Linked DNA regions of Homo sapiens: all the other regions are linked to region 1. The links are contacts of gene promoters, found by promoter capture Hi-C in human tissues and cell types (Jung and others, 2019). All regions are on one chromosome and are shown on one strand. The core of a region is centred on a gene start or on the middle of the fragment in contact, and the rest is flanking DNA. Distances in the headings are between cores, read along the strand shown.

Region 1 (2,889 bases), core at 135-2,634:
AGTCATGATGTGTATCTTGGTTTACTCCAGACAGTACTGAAACCCAGGACCAGGAAAAAACTGAAGGGTGGCTGAAGACACATCACTCCGTAAAGTTTCCAAAGAAAAACCTTCACCTGAAAACAAACATTCTGATAAGATTTCTGTGCCTGAGGAAGATAAAAAAAAAAAAGCCATAGAAATTTCATAAAATACAGTGTCAGGGAATTATTTTTTGCTTTCTTCTCATGAGAAATATTTTCAACCAGAAAACAATTTTAAGTGCCATCCAATGCTTTGTCAAAAAATGATTAACTAAAATACAGTATCAAAAATGTACACTAAAGGAAAAACAGTTGAGAATGTGAATTAGGAAAGGCAAGCTGGCATTTGGAAATGTCAGAAGGAACTAGAAATTTAGTATTTTAGTTTATTTGCAGTTTAAATCTAACTGCAGGCCAGAGTTAGGCTGGAGGAATGGGGCTGGGAGGTACACTTGAGACCCCGCTTGGAACGCATGTGAAAAATGCAGGGGAAAATCAGTCCCCTGTGGAGTGTGAGAATAATTAAGTGGCAGGCAATTACACTGAGGAGGCTCTAGTCCCCGGCTTTCTACTTAACAGCAACAGCTACGTAAATGTACCTAACCGATTATTAAATATAGTTTTCTTCATCATGCACCTTATAAAAAGTCTTTCCTTCAAGCTCCTCCCATGAACCACAAACTACAAAACATACTTTTGTGCTCTACAATTATTGAATCACTCTTTGATTAAATTCTTTAATATTTTTTGCGATGACTGCCACAGATTTTTAATAGGAGAAAATAGGAACCGGGAACCCCACAGACCAAAGCTCTTCCCATTCATGAACCCGACCCCAAGTCAGGATTCTCCCCTGACCACCCTCCCATGGTCCCTGCACAATCTGGGAGAGGCGCGGCGCTGCCGGTGCAGAGCCGCCCAGAGAGGGCTGCAGGCCAGGGCACAGTCACTGCGCAGGGAAGAGACAGGACGCCCGGGGGCCCGGCTGTCGGCGCAGCCGCCATCTTATGGCTGAAGGGGACTGAGGCCGAGCTAGGCAAGGAGAACTCGGAGCGCAGATTGTGGAGATGACTGCGGGGAGTCCTGAGTCCCGCCACAGCCACTTCCCACAGGTTTCAACCAGCCCTTCCCCTCTCTCGGGATGTCGGACGGCACTCTCACCATTTCTAGGCTTCCAGAGGGTCCTGGAGTCTTAGCTGTGGATCTCCCAATACCTGCAGGTCACAGAGCCACAGAGTCTGGGCCTCTAGGAGCAGAGGACAAACAGCAGTGAAGACGAGACCGGAGCTCCGGCTGCAGCAAGAGACAAAGGCCGCGCCAAACCCGGAAGCCGCCCTGTCCGGTCCAGCTGCGTGTCTGAGTGAACTGTCCCCAGCTCAGAGTCCCTGATTGGATAATGTTAAAACCCGCCCCTTCAGGCCCTGAGGGACGGAAGATGTGATCAGATGCTGGGCTGAATGAAGTGTGACAGCCTATGCTGCAGCCTTTTCAGGCAAGGCTTCCTCCCTGAGCTGAGCCAGGCCCACCCGAGAGGGTGTTTGCCTTTAATCTTGTGTATAAGGTCATATGCCCTTATAAATAATATGCTATATGGCTATTCACAAATGAAAAGAATATAATAACCCAATTGTTCTAAAAAAAATTTTTTTTTTGAGATTGAGTTTCACTCTTGTTGCCCAGGCTGGAGTGCAATGGCGCGATCTTGGCTCATCGCAACCTCCACCTCGCGGGTTCAAGCGATTCTCCTGCCTCAGCCTCCCGCGTAGCTGAGATTACAGGCATGCGCCACCATGCCCGGCTAATTTTTTTGTATTTTTAGTAGAGACGGGGTTTCTCCATGTTGGTCAGGCTGGTCTCAAACTCCAGACCTCAGGTGATCCTCCCGCCTCGGCCTCCCAAAATGCTGGGATTACAGGCATGAGCCACTGCGCCCGGCCCAACTGTTCTAAAATTTTATATTTTGTGACCTTCCTGACTTCTGGTCCTTTGAGCAGGCAGCCTGAGATTTTAAAAAGGAGGCAATTCTCTGAAATAAAATGTGAGCCACAAGTTGGGCGCTGTACCTCACGCCTGTAATCCCAGTACTTCGGGAGGCCGAAGAGGGTGGATCATCTGAGGTTCAGAGTTCGAGATCAGTCTGGCCAACATGGTGAAACCCCGTCTCTAAAACAATACAAAAAAATTAGCTGGGCATGGTGGCAGGCGCCTGTAATCCCAGCTACTTGGGAGGCTGGGGCAGGAGAATCGCTTGATCCTGGGCGGTGGAGGTTGCAGTGAGACGAGATCACGCCACTGCACTCCAGTATGGACAACAAGAGTGAAACTCTGTCTCAAAAAAAATAAATAAATAAAATAAAATCATAAAATGTGAGCCACATGTAAATTTTAAATTTTCTAGTAGCCAAACTTTATTTTATATTTTTATTTTTTTAGACGGAGTCTCACATTGTTGCCTGGGCTGGAGTGCAATGGCGCGATTTCTGCTCACTGCAACCTCTGCCTCCCGGGTTCAAGCGATTCTCCTGCCTCAGCCTCCCAAGTAGCTGAGATAAAAGGCGCTGGCCACCATGCCCGGCTAATTTGTAGCCAAACTTTAAAAAGAGTTTAGCTCTATTTTTAAAAAGAAACAAAGAACAGGTGAAATTGATTGTAACAATTTAACCCAATATATCGAAAATATTGTCATTTTAATATGTGAGAAATATGTAATTATTAATGAAGTGTGTCTATATATATGGAACTAAACCTTTGAAACTAACTCGTATTTTACCTTTCTAGCACATCGCAGTTCAGACCAGGCGCATTCCAGGCAGCCAGTAGCAACACAGGGCCAATAGCTGCTACATTGAAGTGCAGCTCTGACATC
Region 2 (2,817 bases), core at 289-2,788, 670 kb before region 1:
CCGAAGCGGGTCTGAGGCAGAGAGTTCAAGACCAGCCTGACAAACATGGAGAAAACCCGTCTCTACTAAACACCAAAATTAGCCGGGCGTGATGGTGCATGCCTGTAATCCCAGCTACTGGTGGGGCTGAGGTAGGAGAATCGCTTGAACCCAGTAAGCCGAGATCACGCCATTACATTCCAGCCTGGGCACCACAAGCGACACTGTGTCTAAAAAAAAAAAAAAAAAAAAAAAAATACCCTGTTGCAGGCTTAATATTAGCCTTAGCTTGGAGTCACTAGGTTCAAGCTTTAATGTCCACATCAGTTATTCACTTGGTTTTTGAAACTAAGTGTTAGAAACTCCAGTGAAATTACTCACAATGTTTACATAAAGGAATTTTTAAGATGCTTACTTTTTTTTTCTTTTTTTTGAGCCGGAGTCTCGCTTTGTCACGCAGGCTGGAGCGCGATGATTGGATCTCAGCTCACTGCAACTTCCGCCTCCCGGGTTCAAGCAATTCTCGTGCCTCAGCCTCCCAAGTGGCTGGTACTACAGGCACGTGCCAACACGCCGATAGTTTTCGTATTTTTAGTAGAGACGGGTTTCACCACGTTGGCCAGGCTGGTCTAGAACTCCTGACCACGTGATCCACCTGCCTCGGCCTCCGAAGTGCTGGGATTACAGGCTTGAGCCACCGCGCCCAGCAAGAAAGGGGTTTTGAACCCTAATGCAGTTCCTGTTTTTGTTTCCATCCCCTATTGGCTGGGATCAGACCGCACAATCTAAGCTGATCCTGGTAAGCTTAGACCCAAACTTTTTCCAAATAAAGTAAATGCGCGATTTGCGAGAAAAGGAAAAGGGGGTAGAAGAAGAGGTAGGGTTGATTTACAACTTTTACAACTTATGACCAGAAAGTTGAGTCATTTAAAAGGAACTTAGTTGTCCTAACACCTCTTTACCTCAAGTGATCCGCCCGCCTCGGCCTCCCAAAACGTTGGGATTACAGGCGTGAGCCACAGCGTCCGGCCCCATACATTTTTAATAGGAGAAAAGAGAAACTGTAAACCCAAAGGAACAAAGCTCTTCCCATTCATGAACCCGCACCCCGAGTCAGGATTCTCCCCTGCCCACCCTCCCCTGGTCCCTGCACAATCTGGGAGAGACGCCACGCTGCGGGTGCAGAGCTGCCCAGAGAGGGCTCCAGGCCAGGGTAGTCACCGCGCAGTGAAGAGACAAGACGCCCGGGTGCCGGCTGTCAGCGCAGCTGCCATTTTATGGCTGAACAGGACTGAGGCCGAGCTGAGCAAGGAGAACTGGGGGAGCAGACTGTGGAGCTGACTGCGGGGAGGCCTGAGTCCCGCCACAGCCACTTTTCACCGGTTCCAACCAGTCCCTCTCCTCTCTCGGGATGTCGGACCCTCACTCTCACCATTTTTGGCTTCCAGGAGGTCCCGGTGTCTTAGCTGTGGATCTCCCAATACCTGCAGGACACGGGGCCACACAGCCTGGGCCTTTAGGAGAAGAACCAGACCTGGAGCTCTGACTGCAGCGAGAGACAAAGGCCGCACCAAACCCGGAAACCGTCCTCTTCGCTCCAGCTGCGTTCCTGATTGGATGGTTTCCAGCCCACCATCCCTGATTGGATAATGCTTAAGGCCCCGCCCCCTGAGGCCCTGAGTGACAGTAGATGTGATCAGACGCTGAGCTGAGTGAAGAAAGAGTGACAGCCTAAGCTGCAGCCTTTTCAGGCAGGGCTTCCTTCCTGAGCTGAGCCAGGCCCACCCCAGAGCATGGGAGAATTCTATCTTTTCTTTACTCTCTCTCTTTTTGAATGTATTCAAAAGGTGAACAGAAGTATTTTGCTCTCATATTAATAATACATAAAATTTTTGTTCAAGAGAAAATCAACTTTTACTTTGGCAATAATGTATTATCAATACTAAAGGTAATTTTGATAAAACCTTATAAAAAATCAAATTTGTCATTTTTGACCTCTCGAGATTTACATACATATTTTGTAATCTAATGTAATTTTTTAACTTTTTATATTTTATTTTTATCTACATTCTTTTTATTTTTTCAATTTGAAACAACCTTTAAGTAATTTCAAACTGTTACAAGAGACAAAGAAATCATTTAGGGCCAGTCCGCTGGTGCACGCTTGTAATCCAAGCACTTTGGGAGGCCAAAGTGGGTGGATCACTTCAGGTCAGGAGTTCAAGACCAGCCTGGCCAACATGTTGAATCTCATCTCTAGTAAAAACACAAAAAATTAGCCAGGTGTGGTGGTACACACCTGTAGTCCCAGGTGCTACGGCGGCTGAAGCAGGGGAATCGCTTGAACCCAGGAGGCGGAGGTTGTGTAACGGCCTAAGGGCTTCATCTTGCCTAGACAGAGATGATTCATCAAGACAGGGGAATTTGTGGAGGAAAAGTTAAATATTAAATTTGAACTCAGTTGAACATGGACACAAACAATGGTCACCAAGTCCTGGAACAGGTTATGTGAGCCCCTTGAGGCATTCACCTGCCGACCTTCCCCTGGTCCCTGCACAATCTGGGAGAGACGCCATGCTGCAGGTGCAGAGCTGCCCAAAGTGGGCTCCAGGCCAGGGCACAGTCACAGCGCAGTGAAGAGGCAGGACTTCTGGGGGCCTGGCTGTCAGCGCAGCTGCCATCTTCTGGCTGAATGGGACTGAGGCCAAGCTGGGCAAAGAGAACTGGGCACAGATTGTTTTGGAGAAATCTCTATTTTAATCTATTCCTATACGTTAGTTATTGAAAAACAATAGCCAATCGCAAAAAAAACAAGTTGACTTTTTTGTGTTCCTTGAG
Region 3 (2,870 bases), core at 341-2,840, 770 kb before region 1:
TACTCAGGAGCCTGAAGCAGGAGAATCGCTTGAACCAGGGCAGCAGAGGGCAGCAGTGAGCCAAGATCACACAACTGCACTCCAGCCTGGGTGACAGAGACTCCGTCTCAAAAAAAAAAAAGAACCTATAATAACAATTCTTCTGTTCATAAATATGCCTTCAGATGTAGACATCAGAAGTCTCAAAAATATAAAGAAAGTGGCCTAAATAAAGCCCAAGGTGTTGGACACATCTATGTATTGCACCAACCATATGATGCACAATTCAATTATTTATCCAGTTGCTAGTCTAGACTAAAAGCTTCTGGATTGTAGGAAAAAAGACTGCTGCATAGTTTTTTTTTAATGGCCATATAAAATGGAAGCAACTAGTTTATCCATTTGGGTCTCCAGATCTTTTCCTTCTTTACCATCCAAGTACTAGGAAACTGGAGAAACTCTCATCTGGGTACCAACCAAAGACACCTCTTGTATGAGGGGATGAAAAAACACAGGATGACTCATTTCCCTTACACTGAGACAGAAGCAGAATTAACCACTCTTATCAGCCTAACACAATTCTGCTCTGAACATCCTCAAATGCCTCAAAGACACCCAGGTGATTGTGAGGGAATTTCCAGTGACCCTGGGCTGATGGCCCAATGATAAGCCAGGCTAGAGAGACTCAGGCTGAAGACCAATGCAACAGAATAGAGAGCCCAGAAATAATGCCACCCTCCTATAACCATCAGATTTTTGACAAAGCTGACAAGGGAAATGTGGGAAGAATTCTCTCTTTAATAAATGGTGCTGGAATAACTACCTAGCACTATGTAGAAGACTGAAACTAGCTCACTTCATTACAGCATATACAAAAATCAACTGAAGATAAACACTTAAATGTAAGCTTAAAATTATAAGAAACACTGCATGAAAACCTAGGAAATACCATTCTAGACACAGAAACTGGCAAAGAATTCATGAGGAAGCTACCAAAAGCAACTGCAACAGAAGCAAAAATTGACAAATGGGACCTATTTAAACTAAAGCGCTTCTTCACAGCAAAGGAAACTATCAACAGAGGAAAAAGACAACCTACAGAATAAAAGAAAATTTTTGCAAACTTTGCCTCTGACAAAGGTCTAATATCCAGAATTTATTAGAAACTTAAACAAGTTTAAAAGACAAAACCAAACGACCTCATTAAAAAGTAGGCAAAAAAGATGAACACTGCTTTTCAAAAGAAAATATACATGTGGCTAAGTACCTGAAAAAAATGCTCATCGCTAATCACGGGAGAAATTAAAAGAAAAACCACATGTGGCTAAGAAGTACTTGAAAAAAATGCTCATCACTAATCACTAGAGAAATTAAAAGAAAAACAACAACGAGATATCACTTCACACCAGTCAGAATGGCTATTTTCAAAAAGTCAAAAAATAATAGATGCTGGCAAGGTTGCAGAGAAAACGGAATGCTTATACTCTGCTGGTGGGAGTGTAAATAGTTTAACAACTGTAAAAAGCAGTGTGGCGGTTCCTCACAGAACTAACAACAGAATTATCATTTGACCCAGGGATCTCATAATTGGGTATATACCCAAAGAAACATAAATTATTATATTATAAAGACACATCCACATGCATGTTCACTGCAGCACTATTCACAATAGCAAAGATAAGGACAGGCCCTAAATACCTATCAGTGGTAGACTGGGTAAAGAAAATATGGTATGGTCAGATGCAGTGGTTCACGCCTGTAATCCCAGCACTTTGGGAGGCCGAGGCGGGTGGATCATGAGGTCAGGAGATCGAGACCATCCTGGCTAACAAGGTGAAACCCCGTCTCTACTAAAAATACAAAAAATTAGCCGGGCGCGGTGGCGGGCGCCTGTAGTCCCAGCTACTCGGGAGGCTGAGGCAGGAGAATGGCGTGAACCCGGGAAGCGGAGCTTGCAGTGAGCCGAGATTGCGCCACTGCAGTCCGCAGTCCGGCCTGGGCGACAGAGCGAGACTCCGTCTCAAAAAAAAAAAAAAAAAAAAAAAAATTGGCCAGGTGTGGTAATGCCCGCGTGTAGTCCAAGCTACTTGGGAACATGAGGTAGGAGAAAATTGCTTGAGCCAGGGAGGTTGAGGCTAAAGTAAACCAATATCATGCCATGGCACTCTAGCCTGGGCAATAAGGGAGACTCTGTCTCCAAAAATAAAATGAAATAAAAGATTTAGTCAAAATAAAATATGGTATATAAACCTCATGGAATACTCTGTGGCCATTAAAAAAAAAAATCATGTCCTTTGCAATAACGTCAATGAAGCTGGAGACCATCATTCTTAGAAAACAAATGCAGAGGCCTGGCGCAGTGGCTCATGCCTGTAATCCCACCACTTTGGGAGGCCAATGTAGGTTGATCACTTGAGGTCAGGAGTTCGAGACCAGCCTGCCCAACATGGAGAAAAGCCATCTCTACTAAAAATACAGAATTAGCTGGGTGTGGTGCCATGTGCCTGTAATCCCAGCTACTCAGGAGGCTGAGGCAGGAGAATCACTTGAAACTGGGAGACGGAGGTTGTGGTGAGCCGAGATCACACCATTGCACTCCAGCCTGGGCAACAAAAGTGAAACTCCGTCTCCAAAAAAAAAGAAAGAAAGAAAAAGAAAATACTGTAGAAACAGAAAACCAAATGCATGTTTTTATTTATAAGTAACAGCTAAATAATAAGAACACACAAACACAAAGAGGAGAACAACAGACGCTGCGGCCTAGTTGAGGGTGGAGGGTGGAAGACTAAGAGAATCAGAAAACATACCTGTTTGGTGCTATGCTTAATACCTCAGTGACAAAATAATCTGCACGCAAAACCCCCATGCACCAAAACAAACTCATGTGTACC

Evidence for each region. Contacts are between HindIII fragments. The study calls those that stand out against the background at their distance.
Region 2: the fragment with the promoter of ZNF626 here is called in contact with the fragment with the promoter of ZNF708 in region 1 in 1 of the 25 tissues and cell types used here (mesendoderm cells).
Region 3: a contact is called between a fragment that was not itself captured here and the fragment with the promoter of ZNF708 in region 1, in 2 of the 25 tissues and cell types used here (aorta and dorsolateral prefrontal cortex).

Annotation. Positions count from the first base shown.
Region 1 is chr19:21,328,026-21,330,914 of GRCh38, forward strand. It overlaps ZNF708 (zinc finger protein 708), which reads right to left and starts at 1,385. Exons shown (of 4, transcript NM_021269.3): 1 at 1,185-1,385. The coding sequence starts at 1,187. RefSeq lists enhancers at 938-1,137, 1,178-1,357, 1,242-2,230 and a silencer at 1,477-1,698. The HindIII fragment of the contact is 12,621 bases long and covers 1-2,889 here.
Region 2 is chr19:20,660,033-20,662,849 of GRCh38, forward strand. ZNF626 (zinc finger protein 626) reads right to left here and starts at 1,539. Exons shown (of 4, transcript NM_001076675.3): 1 at 1,412-1,539. The coding sequence starts at 1,414. RefSeq lists a silencer at 1,664-1,733. The HindIII fragment of the contact is 1,409 bases long and covers 536-1,944 here.
Region 3 is chr19:20,558,172-20,561,041 of GRCh38, forward strand. All of the region lies in intron 1 of ZNF737 (zinc finger protein 737), which reads right to left. The region is part of intron 2 of LOC105372316 (a long non-coding RNA gene); the gene reads left to right. Among named protein-coding and RNA genes, the nearest start is that of ZNF737, 6.2 kb to the right of the region's middle. The HindIII fragment of the contact is 6,645 bases long and covers 1-2,870 here.